Regions from separate parts of the Homo sapiens genome. Here all the other regions are linked to region 2. Evidence: promoter capture Hi-C in 16 types of primary human blood cells and fetal thymus (Javierre and others, 2016). All regions are on one chromosome and are shown on one strand. The core of a region is centred on a gene start or on the middle of the fragment in contact, and the rest is flanking DNA. Distances in the headings are between cores, read along the strand shown. Region 1 has its middle 110 kb from the start of LINC00973. Region 2 holds the start of CMSS1 (cms1 ribosomal small subunit homolog). Region 3 overlaps ADGRG7 (adhesion G protein-coupled receptor G7). Region 4 overlaps TFG (trafficking from ER to golgi regulator). Region 5 has its middle 17 kb from the start of ADGRG7. Region 6 holds the start of ADGRG7 (adhesion G protein-coupled receptor G7). Region 7 overlaps DCBLD2 (discoidin, CUB and LCCL domain containing 2).

Region 1 (3,168 bases), core at 89-2,588, 790 kb before region 2:
CGCCATCTGCAAGCTGAGGAGCAAGGAAGCCAGCCTGAGTCCAAAAACCTCAAATGTAGGGAGGCTGATAGTGCAGCCTTCAGTCTGCAGCCAAAGGCCTGAGAGCCCTTGGCACTGGTATAGGCCCAAGAGCCCAAAAGCTGAAGATGTTGGAGTCCGATGTTTGAGGGCAGGAAGCATCCAGCATGGGAGAAAGATGGAGACAAGAAGACTCAGCAAGTCAACTCTTTCCACCCTTTTATGCCTGCTTTATTCTAGCTGTGCTGGCAGCTGATTAGATGGTACCCACCCAGACCGAGGATGGCTCTGCCTCTCCCAGTCCAGTGACTCAGATGTTAATCTCCTTTGGCAATACCCTAATAGACACACACAGGATCAACACTTTGCATCCTTCAATCCAATCAAGTTGACACTCAATATTAACCATCACAAGAAGGTATAAGAAAACTATAGCCTGTGGGCTATATCTGGCCTGTCAACTGTTTTTATCAGTAAAGGTTTATTGTCACACAGCTATGCACATTTGTTTCCCTTTGTGTATGGCTTCTTTTATGCTAAATCAGCAGAGTTGAATAGTTGCAATAGAAACATATTCACAATAGCCAAGATGTGGAAACAACCTAAGTGTCTGTCATGGATCAATGGATAAAAACAACTGTGGTATATATATATATAATGGAATATTATTCAACCTCAAAAAAAACGAGATCCTGCCATCTGTGACCACATGGATGAACCAGGAGGACATTATGCTAAGTGAAATAAGACACGAACAGAAAGACAAATACTACATGATTTCACTTACATGTGGAATCTAAAAAAAAATCAAATTCTTAGAAGCAGAGAGTAGATGATAGTTACCAGGGGCAGGAGTGGGGTGGGGCTGTGTGTTGTTGGGGAGGTGGGGAAATGAGACGACATCGGTTAAAAGGTACAATGTTTCAGTTATGTAGGATGAATAAATTCTAGAGATCCAATGTACAGCATTGGGACTATAGTTAATAATACTGTACTGTATACTTGAAATTTACTAAGAGAGTAGATCTTCAGTGTTCTCACCACAAATGCAGAAAGGTAAATAGGTGGAGATGGATATGTTAATTAGCTTGACAGTAGTAATTAGTGCACTAAGTATATGTATATCAAAACACCATGTTGTACACCTTAAATATATACAGTTTTTATTAAGTAAAATAAAGATGCTTAACTTTCCAAAATGAAAGGATAAAAGGGAAAGGAGAAAGAAGCTTATGGCCTTCAAGGCCTAAAGTATTTACTATCTGAAAAACATTAAAAAATATTTGCCAACTGCTGCTCTAGAGGCCAGTGCTGGAGTGGAATGAAAAAAATAACAAATTCCTACTTTTACTAATTTGTGAGGAAATAACTTTTTTAAAAAAATTATTTATTAATTGGTTCTTATGATGATGAAAGCTTTTCAGCTTATTCAGACTATATCTAGAAAATTACATTATTAATACACAGGTTCATTCTTTAAACAGACAAAATAAGACATTCAACTGTTTTTAATCATCTTTATTTTTTCTAATAGTGACAATTATGCTTTTTTTTTTTTTTACGTTTTGGTTATTAACAAAAGTTTTTCGCATTCAAAGAACATTAAAAAACAAATGGTGAACAGAGTGTGATACCAGACTATGTCCAACAGGTGGCTGTATTTCTCAAAGTTTCAAAACCAGCCCAATTGCCTGTTGCATGCAAATTTCCATCTCAGTTTTCAGCTACCACACATTAATTCTGTGATTCCAGGATAATTAATTCTATAACAGAGGATTAAACAGTGGGGGTGGAAAGTGATAAGTAATCACATAACCAGAGATTATTTTATTGACTTTATTCAGATCAGTACTTCTATTCCTCATTCAACAGATTCAAAATCAATATTTGACCATGTCTTCAGCCTGGTTAGGCCCTCTGTGGTGCCCTCTCAAATTAAATAGGAAGTATATAGTAGAGGTGAGAATTTGTAGTTAAAGATATAGAATAGAGTCCTGTATGTGCCATGTGGTAGCTGAGTGAATTAGGAAGTTATTTGGCCCCTTGCTATGATTTAATCAGTAAAAAGAACTGAATAAGAATTCCTACTGTATCACAAGAGGTTTTCTATAGGATTTTGGGAAAACTCTTTATATCAACATGTTTTATACTAAATATTATTATTTCTATTCACTATCCTTTCTTTCTCTCTCAAATGCTTTTCACATTCTGTTCTACCAGAAATATCAATGGATAGATCTCATCTCACTAACTTTGAATGATCTCTAGATGATTGCATTGGCTTAATTGTTTAAAAGATTTGAAGGCATTCTTATTTCCTGAGCCCTGGCATCTGGACATTTGAAGCCATATCATACCAAATTATTTTCCAAGTATTTTCTCCTGAATATTTCTGTACTTCTGTTTGTCTGCTACAATGTTATTGGCCAACAAGGAATCTGGTTTTACTTAAAATTACTATTTACATTTTTTTGTTCAGGTTAGTGTGTCTTTGTCAGATATTCTCTTTTTAATCCTCATAAAATTATGCTATCCTTAGTCCATTATTTTAATATTGAAAGTTAATGTGCAGAAAATTGAATTCAGCAATTTGTATACTATATATAAGACACTGTGCTAAAAGTTTTAGTATCTACAATTCTAACCTCAGGAAGATTACAACCAAATGTGAAATACAATGAGAAGAGACAAGCCTCTAAGCTACAAGTCAGAAAAATCTACGATTTTCTACTCACTTTGTTACCAGATATCTACTTCTCATATCACTCTCTCTCTGCAGAAAAATTAAGGAGCAGTTAGTGGACTTGAAAAATGTTGGCAGGCTCTCTGTCTACCTCAGATACACACCTGTGCTTCTGGATTTGCCATATCAAGTTGTTTCATTTGACCTGGTCTTTACATGACCCTATAGTCATCAGGATAACAACAGATGTTTAAGGTATCTGTGTGGCTATGTGATAATCCTAGTTCTGTTTTGTCCCCTTTTGTTTTATTTTTATTTGTAATTGATAAATAATCATATATATTTATGGGGTACAATGTGATATTTGGATATATGTGTACATTGTGCAATGATTGTATTAAGCTAATTCACGTGTCCATTTTTTTGGACATTTAAAACCTATTTTTAAAAGTCATTTTGAAATATAC
Region 2 (3,105 bases), core at 289-2,788:
CTCCACTTCCCGGGTTTAAGCAATTCGCCTACCTCAGACTCTCAAGTAGCTGGAATTACAGGCGCCTGCCACCATGCCCGGCTAATTTTTGTATTTTTAGTAGAGATGGGTTTCGCCATTTTGGCCAGGCTGGTCTGGAATTCTTGACCTCAGGTGATTCACCCACCTCGGCCTCCCAAAGCGTTGGGATTACAGGCTTGAGCCACCGCGCCCGGCCCATACTTCTTAATTTTGTGATTTATTGCCTGAAAAACGGTCTCGCTGTGGTGTTTTTTTTGTATTTCCCAGATTAATAATCAGACTGAATTCTTTTCATGTTTATTAGCCATAGCAACTCCTCTTCCACACTGGCATTTCTTATCTTTTTCAAAAATCTATTAATCACGAAAATCTCGTCATCTACATTTCTTCACAAAAGCCATATTACTTTTGATCTTTATAGATTATTTTACATTTGCCATATTTATACATAATATCTTCCCTTTTGGGGCATTTAGAGTGTGCGGACAAAGTCTAGGCAGTAATGCATTTATAAAACATCTATGAGTTGGGTGCACACGGGGTAATTTTCCACATATGGCTAATCCTAGCCTCATCAGATTAAGTTTCCCTGTCTTGTCATTTCCGAGGATGTATCCTATTAGAAGTCTAGCCCTTTATTCCTACAAATTGAATTTCCACTACTGTAGGCTAACATCTGAATGGACTCATCTTACTATTCCATGCATAGTACCAGGCACGTTGCGTGCTTTTACTACATTTTGTATAATTTTTACGTCTGTGTTTGATGTCCTGAAAAATACCGTCCACAATTACTTCACAGCTAGCCCCAGCACTTGGCGCCCAGCGGGTTTTCCTAGTCCCTCCCTGCCAAATCACGTTGGGACTGAGACAAGAGGCACTGCGGGTCTCTTACCTATAGTTACGAAGCAATGGACTCCCTTATTACTTCGTTTCCCAAATAGGGGGTGGGACACACAACCGAGGGAGTATGAGGAAAACAACTTGCGGGTCTTCGAGCCACTTGCGTCTTTCTGTGGGCGAGCCTTTCCAGGCCAATTACATTTTCTTTACTCATATTGCATAAATAGCAGAACTACATTTACCACAAAGGCCCGACATTCATGGTCATGGATCCTTGCGCATGTTTTCTAAGAGCAAACTGTACAAACACATAAACTCTGAAACACTGACGCACAAGCGAAAACACACGCACATGTTTGGGTCTTCTCCCGCTGCGCAAGTTCTTTGAAACTGAGCGGAGAAAAATCGTCTTCACATGGTGTCTCACACTTTCGACACAATCTTATCGGGAAACGTAACACGTAAACAAAATTTTTTAAAATGCATTATCAAAAACGATGACAATCCCTTTCGTCTTATGTTCCTTTTTGTCTTTAAGCTTTGGGGGGATTTATGTTGCGTTTCCAAACTGCTTCTGCCTGTCGGCGCCTGTGTGGAAACTGCGACGAGTCTGGGAGCGGCTGCCGGAGAGGCGGGGCAGAGGTGTGACGTCATCGCCGCGGGGCGGAGGCGACAGTGTCTAGCGGGAGCTCCGCGTGTAGCTACGCCGGCCGCCTGGCTTTGAGACAACGTGATTCTCCGCAGCTGGTCGCCTACCCGTGATGTTCTGCCCACGTCGAGACCTGAGCTGAAATGGCAGACGATCTCGGAGACGAGTGGTGGGAGAACCAGCCGACTGGAGCAGGCAGCAGCCCAGGTACCCACTCTGTGCCCGCGCTCCTACGGGGCCTCTCCCGGAGCCCTTCCGTGCGCCTCAGCCCTGGTCGCTTCTGGCGATCGCGGTGTTTGCCCAGCAGGGGTGTGCACCGCCTTGGGAGCGCGCAAGCATCTCGGGGAAAATGGTGCAAGAGATTCTTTAACACGTGAAACAGACAGCTGTGACATTAACTCAGATCTGTCTGCCAGCCAGGAAGGATCCTTTCCACAAGCTTTCTCTTTTCCTTATTTCTTGAGAATGGATAAGACAGTTTTTGTGAAGAGAGGCAACTTTGTATGATGGTTAAGGGTGACCCATGAACTGCTTTCAATTCAGACTGAGGTCAGAAGCAGGGGTTGCTGCTTCAGACTCCCTCCATTCAAATCACGACTCCAGTATTCTGATACTGTTTAGCCTCCTTTTCCTCATCTGTAAAATAATGATAACAATAATGTCCATTTCGTAAAGTTGTGAAGATTAAGTGAAGTTAGTACAGTAATGCACTTTAGCATAGTGCTTGACATATAATGTGTGGTAAATATAAGTTACTGTATTTCTTGTGGTCATCATCATTATCATGGAATTTGGAATAGTAGAACTGGAAGGAGGCTTAAATAGAGATCATCCTTTGAACTCACTTATTTTACAGATGAGAAACATAACCTAAAGATGTCAAGTAACTTGACAAGTTCACAAAGCTAGCTCCTTTCAGAAACAATACTAGAATTCAGTTAACACAATTTGAATAGTTTCTACTATGCTCTGCTGTGTTTACCAACTCCTGATGCAGTGGGCATTTCATCCCCAAGTAGAGTAGCGTTAAGTGACCCCCCATGTCAGGCTAGCCTTGAACTTTTTAAGTTCCATCACACCTACCATGCAATTATTGGTTGGTTGGTTTTTATCACTCCTCAAGGTCTGCCTCTTTTCTCTACAAGAGAAGACAGGGCCAAAGTCAGATTCATACTTCTGTCATCCACAGGGCCCTGCACATGTTAGACACTTGATACCTATTTGCTGCAAACAATCTTGAAATACTAGTTGTGAAATATCCATTAAAAATAACCAACTTCATTTGTTGCATTGTTTCCGGAAGGTCAAGCCTTCAGGTACAAACTAAGCAGATGTCATTTTTAGAAAGGTAGCCAATACAACATTTCCTTGATTAAACTTCCTGACTCTTTTGCAGCCCTGTGGTGTTCCACATTTACTTTAATAACTACCCCTCCCAACTCAGGTGTTAAAAAGCTCTATTTTATGATATGATTGAAGATGAACAGAGGCCATTTAAGAAATAGTTGAATTCTGTTTGAGTGGTGAAGGGGATCCCAATTCTTGGTTCTAGTCCTCACTAGCTGTGTGACTTTCAAGTTATTCATCCGTTG
Region 3 (3,306 bases), core at 360-2,859, 830 kb after region 2:
AGTAGAATAGAACTTTTTGCTATGTGGTCTTAGGATAGAGAGGTCAGAACTATGTATTTGATCATGGGAAGGGAGTCCATGTGCGAAAGAAAAGCTGGTGGGCTCCATTCAACTAACTCACACGTTCTGAAGCATAAAGTTGTTATAGCCAGAGGTAAAGCTGTATAGCTGTGTGCCAGAGACAGGTTCAATATTTACTTAGCTGTATGTGGACAGTTTAAATCAGTTACCCAAAGCTTTTCCCAATGAAATTGCTCAGGTTACTAAGTTTTTGCTAGAAGATATAAAAGAAAAACTCTGTAATCCCTTCAATTTGTCCCCTAGTTTCTCCGTGTATTCCTTAATTCTTTTACCTCTAAAGCTATACTGTGCAAGTAACTGATAATACTTAGCTCTGGCGTGCAGCTGTGCATGCGTCTCTCAAGGTTCTTGTGCTGACCTTTGTAAGAAGAGGGGCTTCTTCTGTATGTTCTATTTCCAGAAATCTATTATTCCGGTGAAACAAAAAAAAGTTAGTTTATATACTTGATGGAATGTTTTTTATACACAATGGAATGGGGAATTATGAAGAGTGTTCTTCTCCTTAGTAAGGGACTATTAATGCTATGAATCTCCCAAGGAGAAGCAGATGTTTTCATTCCCCAGTAGCTATAATATAGCCATATTTGGGAAGCCAGTGGAGACTGGTAGAACATACTGGTATAGCTTGCATTATCAAAGCACAGAACCTTGCTTTTTAAAACTTTTTGAGATAACTGTAGTTTTCTCATTTTAATTATAAAAGCTCTCTTATTCAAATTCATTTGGATTATTTCTTTTCTAATTTGTATTACAGAGAGATCTGCCTTCTCAATCAGGAGATACAGGAGAAAAATTTAACTTTTTGATATCTTAAAGTCATAGGATCATTGATGAGCTATGTAAAGCTCAGGTTGCTATACATGTTAAATGATATAGTTTACTTTATTATAGTTATCTTTTCCCTTTCTTGAGGTTAGGCTTTCAGCTATTTTTTCTCATTAGTATCTGACTGTCTCAATGTCTACGTACCTACATTTGTAATTAGTTTTGGTTTGCATTATTTTTTTAAATGGCTGATTAAAATTGCATGATTAAGAGCAAATCGGCTCTGAGTGAAAAATATTATTTTTAAAATCTGAAGACCTATGAATCTTACGATCCTTTTTGCATCTACTTAGTACACTACGTATAAGAAATAACATAAAATTTTTGTTTTATTTTTAAATGTGTATTTTGTTTTTATTTTATTTCTATAAAAGCAATACACAGGCATTGCATAAAGCATGAAAGTATGCACCAAACAAAAATATACTGATATGGAAAAATGTTTATGAAAAAGTAAAATGGCAATTCAAGCATAATGCTATTATGTTAGCAAACCCCTGTATGTTTGTGTAAGAGACATAGATAGTATTTTTAAGCATGTAAGAAAAAAAGACAGGCTCTCAAGAGGTAGGTATGGTGTGGGGTAGCAGGCAGTATAAAGGAACATATGCTTCTTTATTATGCCTCTATATTCCTTTCATATTTTACAAATAAGAATACATTGCTTTTCTAATTTTAACAACTTAAAAAAATCAGAAAGTACAGATAAGCAAAATGAACTATACATATCCAACCCACCCTGTGACCACCACCACTACCTCACCAGATTTCTAAGATTACATACTCATATGGTACATATTTTCATATATATATACACACGCAAACATGTTGAGAGATATATAGCTATATTACATAAAAATAAGGCTTCCTTTAAAAAATTAACAGGGTATGAGCATCTTTCCATATTTATGAAAATATTTCTGCAACTTTATTTTTAGTGCATCAATTTAGATATACTTAGAGTCCAGTTACACATAAAAATAATGTCATGAATAAGTGAGGCAACTTTTGACAATTTAGATCTAATTCAAACAATTTTGATTTTAGACATCAAGGAAAAGTATAAATAGTTGACTTGTGAACCACATGGGACAGTATGGGTCCACTTAATATGTGGATTGTTTTCAATAAAAAAGTCTGCCCTCCACATTGGCAGGTTCTGCATCCATGAGGAAACGTAGATGGAAAATAACAGTATTTTCAGAGTGCAAAACTGGTATATGCAGGTCAGCTTTCCACATCAGCAGGTTGCACAGGACCAACTGCAGGACTTGAGTATCCATGGCTTTTGGCATCTGCAAGTTGTTCTGAAACCAGTCCCCCTGCAAATACCAAGACATGACTGTATATTTTTCCTTAACTGAATTAGTTAGATAATTATTCTCAAGCCTGTATACTTCAGGTAAACTGCTCAGCAATAAGGGGTTAATGTATTTCGCTTTTAAATATATCATGAGCTTTACAAAAGGAAGATATATCTGGCAACTGTCTGGTTATTTTGACCCATGTAACTCTGTGATGTTGACTTTCATTAACACTTCAGGGATGACTAATTAAAAATATGAGTCTTACCTTGTTTTTCAGACTTTCAAAAAGGATTATCAATATCCCAAATCACTTGACATATTATCCAACGTTGGATGTGCACTGTCTGTTACTGGTCTGGCTCTCACAGTTATATTTCAGATTGTCACCAGGTAAGAGCAGAAGCAGGCTCTTTTCAGAAGAGAAATTGCTATCTTGATATAATTTACTCTGAGAATTCTCATGAGTAGTGTCTTTGAACTAGGCAAGAACTCAGAGAGGTACTTATTTTACAGAGGAGGACATTTAGGCCTGGAAAGGCTAAGAAATACACACAAATAAATACGTAATTACAAATTGTGGCAAGTGCCTTGAAAGAAAATTATATGCCACTTATTTACAAGTTTGTCATGTAAAATTTATGTGGTCCTGCAGCTCATTAATGCTATAATTCCTCAGTGTTGAATAGAACCATGCCTAGCAATTTGTATTTGTTAAGGAAAGAGACATTGCAAACAGCAATTTTTTAAAAAAGTAATTTAAAAAATATATCAAGCTTTCAAATGGTGAAACGTTTTTCAAAAATATAGTTTTCAAATGGTGAAAGTTTTTGAATCCCATACATTAAATTCTAATTTTAAATAATGACCTATAAACAAATACTTCTCTCCACCTTGACCCCTTCATTTGAGGTCCAATTTTGTATCCCATTCATTATTTTTTGTCACATGCTACATTTTTTTAACTGCCTGCGGTCTTTTAGAAGCTTGTTCATTTATTAATTTACTCCGTTTACTGTGTGTTTCCTCTGTCAACTTCACATTTCATGTTTGTTTGGTCTTTCATGACATTGAAATTTTTCAAGCATCCAGGCCA
Region 4 (3,336 bases), core at 837-3,336, 900 kb after region 2:
ATAACTTATTCAAATATTATTACATTTATTTGTGTTCAGGTAGTTGTTTTAGATTACTTGAAGCTTATGGCTGTGTATGTTTTTAAGAAAATGATAGAAGTTTAATTCAGTAAGAACAGAGTGTTAAGTATGTTTTTTTTGAAATCAGGTATAACTTAGGTATCCCTGGTGCAGTATTATAGTTTTAATTTAGCTGTATTAGAATTTTTAAATTGTAATTATCTTCCTTCACATTACAGTATGTTGTTACTTATTATCAGGGCTTAACATGTAAGTCTGATACTTGAAACCAGTAGTCGCCAACCTTTTTGCACTGGAAACTGGTTTCGTGTAAGACAGTTCTTCTATGGAAGGGGGCAGGAGAAGGTTTGGGGATGAAACTCTTCCACTTTGCATGTGCAATTCACAATAGGGTTCACACTCCTATGTGAATCTAATGCCACTGCTGAACTGACAGGAGGCGGAGCCCACCACTTAACCTCCTGCTGTGCTGCCCAGCCCGGTTTGGTTCCTAACAGGCCACAGAGTAGCACTGGGTTGGGGACCCTTGCTTTAGACAGTATTTCCCGAGGGGTACTTAAAGATTAAAAATAGTTCTGATAAAAACCAATAGAAGACTAATTTTAATCTTTTAGATTTTTTCTTTTAGATCTTAATAGATATGCAAGGCAGAACTCTTAAGGGACAAGATAGAAAAGATTACAGAGTTAAATGGTAGTGTGATTATGTGAAAAATAAAATGTGTACACTTTTTCCGGCTGTTTTGTTGTTTTGTTTAGCATTAATTTTATTTTTTTTTAATTTTGTTGCATGAAACTTAGAGTTCAGTGTGAAATATGATCATGGTCTATTGATTTAATTTGTATCTATTTCATCTCCATCTAGGAAGGATGAATATGAATAATCAGAATTTAAATGTTAATAACAAAAACTGTTTAAAATTATTTAAAATAAAGGTATCTTTTTACAGTATTGAATGTAAAATACTTAACTATTGACTAGGCATAAAGCAGATTAGATAATCTGAAGACCCTTACTTTAAACAGGATCTGCTAGATAAACTTACAAATGTGTTTTCTGAATTCTGTAACTCAGCTTGCACAGGAAAGTAAGGGAAATATCCAGGGAACAAAAAAGTAGAGGGAACTAAAGGCCTGATGTACCAAAAGCTGAAACTTGGGGTGTTCTTGGTGGTGATAGTAGAGATTTTAGCCTGCATAATTTAAGGAATTGCCATCTGGTGTCTACATGGTGTAGGCCCTTGGTCCTAGTCCCTCAGTAGGCCATGCTTTCAAAAAGAATATTTTAGAAAAGTCTACCTTGATACAGGGAAAGTCAAGGAAGCTTAACTCTTATACCTTGGGCCGTCAGGGGCTTGGGAAGTCTCCCTTCAGGATTCATAATTGTGGTCCTTAGGTGAGTTGGGTTTAAATTTAAACTATCCATGTAGTTTGGTAACTCCCAAGCCCAGATGTTACCATTTTAGAAAAATCTCAGAAGAAAGGCCAAAATCTCTCTTGAGGGGTATATTCTCAATCCAGGTCACATAGGTTTCTCACAGACAAAACCGTAAGACACATGAAGCTGTCAGGTAAGCAAGAACCACTGGACACAACTAATAGCAGGATTAGATTTTCAACAACTTCAGTTAAGATATGTGATAGTCTACAAAATTAAAAGTTATTTAAGACATAGAAGAAGGAATAAGAATATAAAAGCAGCCGGCCGTGGTGGCTCACGCCTGTAATTCCAGCACTTTGGGAGGCCAAGGCGGGCGGATTGCCTGAGTGCAGGAGTTCGCGACCAGCCTGAGCAACACGGTAAAACCCTATCTCTACTGAAATGCAAAAAATTAGCCAGCTGTAGTGGTGTGTGCCTGTAGTCCCAGCTACTTGAGAGGCTGAGGCAGGAGAATTGCTTGAACCTGGGAGGTGGAGGTTGCAGTGAGTCGAGATCGCGCCACTGCACTCCAGCCTGGGTGACAGAGTGAGACTCCATCTCAGAAAAAACAAAACAAAACGAGAACATAAGAGCAAGATGCTATTGTATTATGGAAAAACAATAAACAGATTTTATAAAGAACTTAAAGTAACTTGGAAATGAGAAATATAATCATTGAAATTAAATACTAAGTGGATAGGTTAAACACATTAGTCATAGCTAAAAAGAGAATTAGTGAACTGAAAAGGAAATCCAAAGAAATTACAGAGTAAAGCACAAAAACACAGGCAAAAGAGAAGTTGAAAATGAGAACATCCAGAATATTTCTATTCAGAGTTTCAAGAAGGAGAGAATGGGAGAGTGGAAATACATTGAGGTAATGACTAAAGAAATTTTCAGAGTTATATAAAAGCTATAGACCCTCAGATTCAGAAGGCACGGGGAGCCTTGAGCAGGGATAAGTAAAAGTAAATCCCCACTGGACATATTGTCATGAAACTGGAAAATGTCTTAAGACAGAGAGATTACCTTAAAAGTAGCCAGAGAGAATAAGACTGATCACATATGAAACAATTAGACTGTTAGTAGACTTCTTCATAGTAATAATAGAGGCTAAAAGACAGTATTATCACAGTTGCAAACAGTAAAGAAAAATAACTAGAAAAGTAGCATCCTATACTCCACTAAATTTCACGAATGAGGAGAAGTAAAAATACTTTGAAAGACTGAGAATTTACCACTCATGGACCCTTGTTAAAATAATTTTTAACAGTGGTCTTCATCAAGAAGGAAATTTAGTCCAGAAGGTGGTGAAAGATGCAAGAAGCAATGTGAGCAGATAAACTGTTGCTTGGTCAGTAGGCTATGCTTTCAAAAACTATTTTAGAAAAGCTTTTCCATTGATACAGAAAAAGTCAAGGAAGCTTAACTCTTAAACCTTGGGCTGTCAGGGGATTGGGAAGCACCAATGAAATTTATGTGTACGTTTTAATGAGCATTGATTGTTACAAAATTAATAGTCTTAGGGAATAAAAACAATTTGGGACAAAAATACTGGGCAATAATATGTAAGAAAGGAAGGGATGATAGGAATAAAAATATTTTAAGGACTTATTTGGGAGGAACATTGTAATTACCTTTAGATTTTTTTAATTGCATACTACATATGCAGAAGTATGCATGGTGTACATGTAAGAGTTATAATTGAAAAATTAGACATTGTCAGGAAAGGAGAAAAAAAGAAAACAAGGGTACCTGTTCAGTTCAGTAGAAAGTGGTGGCGGAATAAAAGAGGTAGAAAGCTCAATAGATAGAACAGAATACTAATCACAGTACACAGAAATTGACTACATATATCGGTTAAAATAATCTCTTAATGGAATTTTAAAAAAAATC
Region 5 (2,990 bases), core at 46-2,545, 780 kb after region 2:
GCTCACCAGGTTGGCAAGTGTCCTTAACCAGTATTTTTGTCATTCCAACATTCCTCTGGGAGGCAATGTTTATACTTGTAAATCATTTATTAACTAGTGACTTCTGCATTGTTGTCTTTGGTGTCTTCTAATGTTTTATACGCTTGCTAACTAGATCACAAACTCGTTGAGTATCCTTGAATATCATACATTATTATTAAGCTTTCTGGGGATTATGGGCCTTCATATCCTGTAAAATGCATGGTTCTTATTGCAGAATGGCCCCTGTATTAGTTCTCCAGAGAAACAGAACCAATATACAAATGTAGGCTTGAGGGGAGGATTTTAAGGAATTGGCACAAGTGGCTGTAGAGGCTGACAAGTCCCAAACCTGTGGTACTTTCTTAGAGCAGCCTTAGCAAACTAATACAATCTTATTACTTTAACATTAGTTTTAAGCTTCATGTTTTAGAATTCAAAATAAGGCATGTATTTGAGACAACAGGCTGGGAAGAGTTGATGTTACAGTTCAAGCCCAGAGGAATTCCTTCTTCTTTGGGAAAGGTTAGCCTTTTTTTATTAAGGCCTTCAACTGGGCTGGGCATGGTGGCTCATGTCTGTAATCCCAGCACTTTGGGAGGCCAAGACGGAAGGATTGCTTGAGCTCAGGAATTCGAGACCAGCCTGGCAATATAGGCAGCCTGTGTCAAAAAAAAAAAAAAAAAAAAAAATTAGCCAGTGCCAATAGTCTCAACTACTCGGGAAGCCTGGGCGATTGAAGCTGTGATGAGATGATTGTACCACTGCACTCCAGCCTGGGTGACTGAGTGAAAACTGTGGAAAAATAAAAAAATTAAAAAAAAGGCCTTCAACTGATTGTATAATGATATGGTTTAGATGTGTGACCCCTTCAAATCTCATGTTGAAATGTGATCCCCCATGTTGGAGGTGAGCCTATACGGAGGTATTGGATCAGGGGGCAGATCCCTCATGAATGGCTTAGCACAACCCCCTTGGTGATAGTGAGTTCTCTGAGTGCGTGAGATCTTGTTTCGGAGGGTATCACCTCTCCTGCTGTCACTCTAGCTCCTGCTAGCTCCATGTGACATGCTGGCTCCCTGTCGTCTTCTGTCATGATTGTGAGCTTCCTGAGGCTCTCACCGGAAGCTGAGCAGATGTTGGCACCGTGCTTCTTGTACAGCCTGCAGAACCATGAGTCAATTAAACCTCTTTTCTTTATCAGTTACCCAACCTCAGGTATTCCTTTATAGCAACACAAAAATGGCCCAATACAGATGAGGCCCACCCACATTACCAAGGGTAATTCACTTTACTCAAAGTCTACTGGCTTAAGGCTGGGCAAGAGTAGCTCACACCTGTAAACCCAACACTTTGAGAGGCCGAGGCAGGTGGATCACATGAGGCCAAGAGTTCGAAGCCAGCCTGGCCAACGTGGCAAAACCCTGTCTCTACTAAAAAATACAAAAATTGCTGGGCATGGTGGTGCATGCCTGTAGTCCCAGCTAATCAGATAGCTGAGGCATTAGAATCACTTGAGCTGGGGGCGGAGTTTGCGGTGAGCCGAGATCATGCCACTGCACTCCAGCCTGGGCAATAGAGCGAGAGTCTGTCAAAAAATAAAAAAAATCAAAATCCAAAAAGTCTACTCACTTAAATGTTAAGTGTTAATTCTCATCTATAAAATACTTTCATCTTCATCTCTGATCTAGGAGGACATTCAAGACCCAGGCTCCTTTTGTTTGATCGTTCTACCATTTTTTGAGATGTCCATGTCGGCATTCAAGACTATAGAAGGGGAAAATAGAGTGGCTGGAATTTCTAATGTGATGTGTAATTTCTACTGTGATCTGGAAATCTGGAAGGTGCAATCATCCTTTCTGCCTATTTTCCAATAGCCTAAACTTAGTCATATAACTACACTTTGCTTCAAGGGAGGCTGGAAATAATCGTGACTTGCTTGCAGGCCATTAGCTCCCCTGAAATTAAAGTTCTTTTTTTTTTTTTTAAAGAAGGAAAGGATAGATCGTAGGTTATTTGGTAGTCTCTTCCAAAACACTCAGGCAAATTAATAACATCCAAAATTTGAAAATCTTGAACAAATGAGATGATCAGGGGAATCATCAGTGGAAAATAAGGAATTTTATAAATGAGGTAAAGCTTCAGCTCAGCATTAGGATTTTAATTCAGTTTATTAGAACTTCTGTTACCAGGCTATTTGTAAATTAGAGAAAATGTAAGAGACAATGTTAACAAAATTAAATAAAAAATACCTTCACAAAAAATCTGAATAAATTTTGACCAAATATCTGAATACTATGGCCAAGCCAAGTTGACACATAAAATTAATCATCACAGCCTCCAGTGAATCCTGCCATCTTGAATTTGTGCTTTTTGTAGCATGAATCTGGACTGGTCTTGTGATCATTGGTTTTTAAAATTTTTTATGGATACATAATGGTTATGCATGTTTATGGAGTACATATGATATTTCGACACAAGCATGTAATGTGCAATGATCAAATCTAGGTAGTTGAAATATCCATCATCTCAAACATTTATCATCTGTTTGTGTTGGAAACATTCTAAGATGATTCTTCTAGTTATTTTAAAATACATGATAAATTATTGCTAACTATAGTTGCCCTATTGTGCTACTGAGCATTAGATTTTATTCATTCTATCTAATCATATTTTCGTACTCATTAATCAACTCCTCTTTATCTCCCCCTCCCCACTACCCTTCCCACTCTCTGGTAACCACCATTCTACTCTCTACGTCCATGAGATCAATTGTTTTAGCTTGCACATGAGTAAGAACTTGTCACATTTGTCTTTCTGTGCCTGACTTATTTTACTTAACGTAATGTCTGCCAGTCTCATCCATGTTGCTGCAAATGACAGGATTTTATTTATTTTTTTATCTTAAGGATGCTGAATGGCTTAAGAGTCACTGTTATTTTCTTTTATTGATTTATTGATTTCAATTGTGA
Region 6 (3,317 bases), core at 338-2,837, 790 kb after region 2:
ATTAATGGGCTGGTATGTAGGTAGTAACGGGCTAGTACATAGGTTTCCAATTTATGATGGTTTTTTTCACTTCTGATTTTTCAACTTCACCATGGTGCAAAAGCAATATGCATTCAGTAGAAACCATGTTTGGGGTACCCATACAACCATTCTGTTTTTCACTTTCACTACAGTATTCAATATATCACATGGGATATTCGCCACTTTATTATAAAATAGGCTTTGTGATAGATGATTTTGCCCAATTTTATGCTATTGTATGTGTTTTGGGCACATTTAAGGTAGGCTAGCCTAAGCAAGGATGTTCAGCAGGTTAGGTGTATATTTAATGCGTTTTGACTTAAGATATTTTTTAACTTAAGGTGGATTTATTGGGATGTAATCTTATTGTAAGTCAAGGAGCACCTGCACTCCATAATAATTAAATATGATGATCTTTTATTTTAGCAGTTATGACTTGCCTTATAGGTGGCTATATCTAGGTATCTCACCCCTGAGAAATTATGAGTTCTTTGAGGACCCTGTTCATGTCTTGTACCAATTCAAACACATTAAAGGCATTTAATATGGATTTGATGAAGCAAGGGAGTGTCCAGAGAAGACCAGAGCATCTGTTCTCTCTACCAAAACAAAACTGTGATTGAGGAGGTGAATGTTCATGTATCTGTTCTTCCCTGTAAGGGTAGAGGGTAGGGAAGGAGAACATGGGAGCCTGGGCAGGAGAGGGTCAGAGCTGCATCTATAGAGAGACACCAGTTTGTAGTTACTCTGATGATGTATTAGTTTCCCAGGGCTGCTCTAATAAAGTACCACAAACTGGGTGGCTTAAACAACATAAATTTGTTGTCTTACAGTTTGGGTGGCTAGAAGTCAAGTCAAGGTGTCAGCAGAGCCAGTTCCTTCTGAGGACTCTCTCTTGTAGATGGCCGTCTTCTCTCTCTGTCTCTTCAGATCATCTTTCTGTATTCATGTCTGTGTTCAGATTTCTTCTTCTTATGAGGACACCAGCCATATTGATTAGTGACCACCCTAACAAACTCGTTTTAACTCGATCACCTCTGCAGTAACCACATCTCCATGTGAGGCCTCATTCTGAGGTACCGAAGGTTAGGACTCCAACATATGAATGTTGGAGGGGACACAATTCAGCCCATAGCAGGTGGGTTATCATGCTGGGCTTTAGTGCTTGTCAAGACCCAGCCTGTGCCAGTATGCACACTCACCAACTGCATCTGTCAAAATGTAGGCTCCTTAAAGAAATGCAAGCGCTAAAAACCATGTGTGGTGATTGCCATTTATCCTCTTATTGACAACCTAGTTCATTTCCCCGAGAGAGTGTTTTGTGTGGTCTGAAGCACCTGCCAGTCTATCTCTGCTGTACCCTCCCAAGACAAAAATACAGGAAGCCGAGCCATAGGTGACTACTGGCAACCACTGCCTTTGTGATTTCCTCTTTGGTTTCTTCTATTTTGTTCCCTTCCTTCACTCTGTGGCTTGTCTGGGCATTCACTCTTTGACCCTTGTGGCTAGTCCCTCCCCTTCTTCTTTATTGCCCTGAGTTATCTCCCTATTCCCATAACTCTAATCACTTTTTTCATGTTCTCCTTGAGTGAAGGATGAGGAAATTGAAAGCAGAGTATGCACCTTTTATTAGGAGATTCAAACTGCATCCTACTGGATTAGCCTCAAAAGTCCTAAAATACAAAGACATCCATCTGACAGATCACTGAGGGGAGGACTTGTTTTTCTGTTTTAGAATAGTTTCCGATTAAACTTTTTAGCTCAAGAAGAAAAGAAGCTAGTTATTTCTCACCCAGGAGTGGATTTGTGGTTTGGCTTCACCATGGCTTCCTGCCGTGCCTGGAACCTTAGGGTGCTGGTGGCTGTCGTGTGTGGACTACTGACTGGCATCATTTTGGGACTGGGCATCTGGAGGATTGTGATCAGGATCCAAAGAGGTAATGTTGTCCTGCTATGTTTAACTCAGAGTAAGAGAAGGTATGGGACCTCTGTCCCTGCCACCTGGTGCACAAGTACTGGGAGGTACCTTGTCCAGTCTGAGGCATTCCACCAAGGTGCCATTTATGGGATATAAAAGACCAAGTCAGTTAAGCCTAGCAGATGGTTGAATAGAAATGAATAGGTGTGGGTGTGAGTGGGCAGGGGGAAGAGTGACATAATTGAATTGGCCTCTTTATGCTCTTTTAACTCCAGACTGAATTGGTAGAAGAGTAATAATTAAAACGATTAGTAACACACATTTAGGTCTGTTTGGCTAAATTCAGGAAAGGGTAAATCGTTATGAACAAGGACACACACATGCATCAAACACATACACACACATGCATAACACACATACAATCAAACATACACAGAATGGAATTTCATTTTAAGAGAGAAGTTAAAGAAACTCATCACTAAGGTTTAAGTGAAATGATCTCATGGTTTGCATACAAATTTCCCACTTTCCAGATGTAGGAAACTAATCAAAAATTTAAAAACCATTTTTAAATGACTTTCCTGATTATTCAACGAACATTTGTTAGTCCCCCGCTGTGTGCCAGAGCTGGCCTGGAAAAGGAGGACGTGGGAGGGGAAGTAGTGAGTAAAACAATGATGTTAAAGAAAAGCCCGCTGGAACTCAGAACGCGAAATTTCAATGATCCTAATGCTGGATCCCTTGGGCTGTAGAGCTTCTCCGTAAAGGAATTCAATGTTGGATGGGCTACATACTCCCTTTCGTGAAAATCAGAGAAAGCTTCTAATGAAACAATAAATAAGGGTAAATAATGCCGATCGGGAAAGGCAGCAGGAGAGGCAGTATGCCCTCTGAGCAGGTAACTGGGGAGGACAGAAGGTTGGGGAGCTAGCAGGAGCATGGAGCATGGCTGCAAAGATCCAGTGTTGAAGACCAACAGAGGGATCTGACATACTGGCTGCTGATGGAGTGGTAGCTGGGGATGGATTTGTCCTCCCCCTACCCCACCGCCCTAACCAGTATTTAGAGAATACTGTATCGATAGTATTTAGAGAACTAGAATGAGAAAATTTACCAGAACAAAAATAGTAAAATTTAAACTTGGAGCAAATGTGTTTTTGTTTGTTTAAGGTTGTAAAATAGTTTCATTCAGGTTAAAAAATTATGAACTATGGATTTTACCCCATTAAGGCTGCCAAATTTATAAGACCTCATTTAAAGGACATACTTCACAAAGTTTTGTTTGTTTGTTTTTCCTTCCTTCCTTCCTTCCTTCCTTCCTTCCTTCCTTCCTTCCTTCCTTCCTTCCTTTCTTCTTTCCTTCCTTCCTTCCTTCCTC
Region 7 (3,037 bases), core at 19-2,518, 920 kb before region 2:
GAAACAAGAGGGAAGAACTAAGCTGAGTCCTTGGTTCCTGAAGTCTAGCTGCATTCCTGCCTTCCCCTCTCAATCCTCCCAATAGTTTCTCCTTCTACCTTAATCAGATATGGATTTCTGTTCTCTATAACCTCAAAAGTCCTAACTAAAACACTCTTCCTCCATGCATGCAAAAGAATGTCCACCTCACATCCAGACCTATAAAGCTGGCTTTTAGGATGCCAAGAGTAGACAGAAACAAAGGTATATCAGGAAAGAAGAGATAAAATGATCTGAGATGGTGGGGATCAAAAAACACTGAAGCACACCAACAGGCAGAAGGCTGAAGAGGCAGAGCAAAGGTCAAAAAGGAGAGCACAGAACTCACATTAAGATTTGGGTGGGCTGGAGACAGTCATGCCTTTCTGCCACATTCCTCTATTGCATGCTCTGACTCCTCTCACTGAGCTGGGGGTGGAACAATAATTGGGGATAAAGGGAAGAGGGATGGAAAAGTGAGTCTTAGTGGAACGGAAACATATAAAAATGGAAATTTTAACTGCAGAGTAAAATGAAACAAAATTTTCTTTGACATATTGATTCATTCATTGAACAAAAATTTACTTGCTACCCAGATTCAATCCCAGCCCTCGTTACAGTCTAAAAAGAAAGATGAGTTACATATTTTAAAATATTTAGAGTAGTAACTGGATGTCAAGTTCAACAAGGCTATTATTTAAATCCAGGTATGTCCAAGTCCAAAGCCTCCAGATTTTCAAAGACCACTGTAGTAAGAAAAAAAAAAAAAAGAAACCAATAATAAAGATAGGCAAAGCTGCTTGGTTTTTCAAACTAAAACAAAAACCAAAACAAACAAAAATCTGACAGTGTAAATGACAGTTTCAGTAAAGCAGAAACAAAACCCTTGCTTTTTTATTGCAAGGGTTAAAAAATAAATTAACAATTTAACAAATATCTGCTGTGTGCCAGTCACTAAGAAAATATACAGCACAAATGTAGATTACCATTTAGAAAGCTCGTCACTGAAAAAAGCAGAGATACAAGGTACCACAAAGCAATGAAAAAAGAGATATGTAAAAGCCAGTGGCATTTTGAGCATGTTTCCAGATATAAAGTAAAAGTGCCATCAAAGTGTAAAGCATGCCAAAACAAAATTCACATTCCCCAATGTAGCAGTGCTCTGATAAAGAGGAAGAGGACAAGGTTTCAGTCAGGAGGAAGTCATACTGTGCAAGGATTAGGAGCAGGGCAGGAGTTCGGCTGTACAAATCAGCTTTACAAAGTGAGATAGTCTGCTAAGCAGTAATCCCCACTTGGGACTTGATTAGCCAGACCTCATTTGTGGCAGATCTAATCACGATGACCACATGACTTAATCTTGTAACTATGAGCTATCCAGAACCAGAGAAAGCAGAGAATGGGGATTATCACATGGGCCCAAGTTTGGGAACTGTCCAAGATCACGGAAAGAGCATTGTTGAGATGATGGATTTGGGGTGCCTGAGTTGAGAAGAGATAACCAAACCTAGTGACAGACAAATGAACCAGGTGAAAGAGGAAGCACCTGAGGCTAATGTCAGGCCTAACATCGCAGATACAAACTCCTCAGTCTGCCCCTCAATGGGAAGTCCTCCACAATACGTTCCAGCCTCCATTTCTCATTACTTTTCTATTACACCAGATTAGTGAAGCTACCTGAATGCTCCCCAGCAACATCCACTGGCAAGAAAAAGGAGACAGGCAACTACGAGAACAAAAACTAGGGGGACTTTTATAATATTGGAGATGCCTATTGAAGTCAGAAGCTGAAAGCATGCAAAGGAGAAAGTGTGCCCAAATTGCTGGCACTGATTTAGGCTGTCACGGTTGTTAAGGATGACCCATCTGAGGGGAGCAGAGCTTTCTAAGAAGTAGGCATGTCTATTTTCAGAATTTCAGCTTGAAGGATTCCTCTCATAGTCAAGGGTGTGCAGCAAAGGAGTCTTCCTCCTGGGAAGAGGTGGGACTGGGAAAGGCTGGGAAGACTGTTAGGCTCTGAGCAAACAGGTAGTAAGGGTCAAGACATGGCTCTGTTCCCGGCTCCTGAACTGACCACTAATTTACGGGGATTAGGCAAAGGACAACAGCATGAAGTGCATGCCGGTGCCAAGGGATGAACCAAATAATGTGCTCAGGGTAGCAGATTAACTCTAGAAATGGGGTTCTTAATTCACATAATTTGAATGACAGACACTATGATAAGTATTAGAAATAAGAAAATGAATAAAACTCTCTCCGCTGGCAGGAATAAATACTTAGAATACAGTGTGGAATGTATTATCCGGAGATGAGTGTGTGGGGACTGTTCGAGAACTCTTCATAAAGGGATGATACCCAAGAAGGGTTTTGAAGGCTGATCGAGAGTTTACCGAGAAGACAAGGAAAGTAAGAGCATTTCAAGTAGAGGAAACTGCATATATGAAGAGGTTAGTATAGGGAACAAGGCAAAATGGCATGAAATTATATCTTAGAAGAATAAAATTAGCTCAGTCTCATATCTGAACTATACAGTGTGAGAAATGCTGGCATTAGATTAAGTCAGAGTGAAAGGGAGGGACCAGACTGTGAAAAAAATTACTTACATGATACGCAAAGGAGTTTGGACGGTATCTTACAGATGATAAAGGGGCTGCTGGCAACACTATGGAAGTCATTAACACAGCTCCAAGAGGAAAATGCCCCAGCATGTGGTACCATGCCTGGCCCACAGTAACCAACCAACGTTTTTCCAATAACTGGGCAGACACAGGGCATGAGTTCAAGAAGCAAACAGTGGAGCATGACCAGAATGAGTTTTGCTACTCATTCTAAAAGGGTGGGCTTTCACACTCCCACTTTCCTGACTCCCCAGGTTATAATCTTATGATCTTACTCTTCAAATATCTGCTGTTCCTTGTGGACAAGAAACCTACCAAACTTCAAAGCTTACCAATCTAAAACCACTTTATCAGTGAGGCGTCTCCTACTTCTCCAGGAGTTGTGAGCTTTTTCTGCCTTA

What was found. The method cuts DNA at HindIII sites, captures the fragments that hold promoters and counts their contacts. A CHiCAGO score of 5 or more calls a contact.
Region 1: a contact is called between a fragment that was not itself captured here and the fragment with the promoter of CMSS1 in region 2, in 1 of 17 cell types (endothelial precursors). The highest score is 6.1, in endothelial precursors.
Region 3: a contact is called between a fragment that was not itself captured here and the fragment with the promoter of CMSS1 in region 2, in 1 of 17 cell types (total B cells). The highest score is 5.6, in total B cells.
Region 4: a fragment that was not itself captured here is called in contact with the fragment with the promoter of CMSS1 in region 2 in 4 of 17 cell types (fetal thymus, naive CD8 T cells, total B cells and 1 more); the score reaches 5.6 in fetal thymus.
Region 5: a fragment that was not itself captured here is called in contact with the fragment with the promoter of CMSS1 in region 2 in 7 of 17 cell types (total B cells, fetal thymus, naive B cells and 4 more); the score reaches 17.1 in total B cells.
Region 6: a contact is called between the fragment with the promoter of ADGRG7 here and the fragment with the promoter of CMSS1 in region 2, in 2 of 17 cell types (total B cells and naive B cells). The highest score is 11.4, in total B cells.
Region 7: a contact is called between a fragment that was not itself captured here and the fragment with the promoter of CMSS1 in region 2, in 1 of 17 cell types (non-activated CD4 T cells). The highest score is 5.3, in non-activated CD4 T cells.

What each region holds. Positions count from the first base shown.
Region 1 is chr3:99,022,113-99,025,280 of GRCh38, forward strand. No RefSeq gene overlaps it. Among named protein-coding and RNA genes, the nearest start is that of LINC00973, 110 kb to the left of the region's middle. The HindIII fragment of the contact is 187 bases long and covers 1,246-1,432 here.
Region 2 is chr3:99,816,324-99,819,428 of GRCh38, forward strand. It overlaps CMSS1 (cms1 ribosomal small subunit homolog), which reads left to right and starts at 1,539. Exons shown (of 10, transcript NM_032359.4): 1 at 1,539-1,720. The coding sequence starts at 1,657. HP09053 (a long non-coding RNA gene) reads right to left here. Exons shown (of 3, transcript NR_110821.1): 2 at 2,597-2,651; 3 at 309-2,149. LOC105374010 (a long non-coding RNA gene) reads left to right here and starts at 1,539. Exons shown (of 5, transcript NR_189163.1): 1 at 1,539-1,720. RefSeq lists a silencer at 1,220-1,974 and enhancers at 1,390-2,264, 1,496-1,805. The HindIII fragment of the contact is 550 bases long and covers 1,401-1,950 here.
Region 3 is chr3:100,647,205-100,650,510 of GRCh38, forward strand. ADGRG7 (adhesion G protein-coupled receptor G7) reads left to right here. Exons shown (of 16, transcript NM_032787.3): 11 at 2,491-2,603. Among named protein-coding and RNA genes, the nearest start is that of ADGRG7, 39 kb to the left of the region's middle. The HindIII fragment of the contact is 2,750 bases long and covers 235-2,984 here.
Region 4 is chr3:100,720,150-100,723,485 of GRCh38, forward strand. All of the region lies in intron 3 of TFG (trafficking from ER to golgi regulator), which reads left to right. Among named protein-coding and RNA genes, the nearest start is that of TFG, 12 kb to the left of the region's middle. The HindIII fragment of the contact is 1,488 bases long and covers 1,343-2,830 here.
Region 5 is chr3:100,591,587-100,594,576 of GRCh38, forward strand. No RefSeq gene overlaps it. Among named protein-coding and RNA genes, the nearest start is that of ADGRG7, 17 kb to the right of the region's middle. The HindIII fragment of the contact is 1,719 bases long and covers 437-2,155 here.
Region 6 is chr3:100,608,014-100,611,330 of GRCh38, forward strand. ADGRG7 (adhesion G protein-coupled receptor G7) reads left to right here and starts at 1,588. Exons shown (of 16, transcript NM_032787.3): 1 at 1,588-1,958. The coding sequence starts at 1,844. The HindIII fragment of the contact is 7,171 bases long and covers 1-2,756 here.
Region 7 is chr3:98,892,609-98,895,645 of GRCh38, forward strand. The region is part of intron 1 of DCBLD2 (discoidin, CUB and LCCL domain containing 2); the gene reads right to left. Among named protein-coding and RNA genes, the nearest start is that of DCBLD2, 7.6 kb to the right of the region's middle. The HindIII fragment of the contact is 3,386 bases long and covers 1-2,961 here.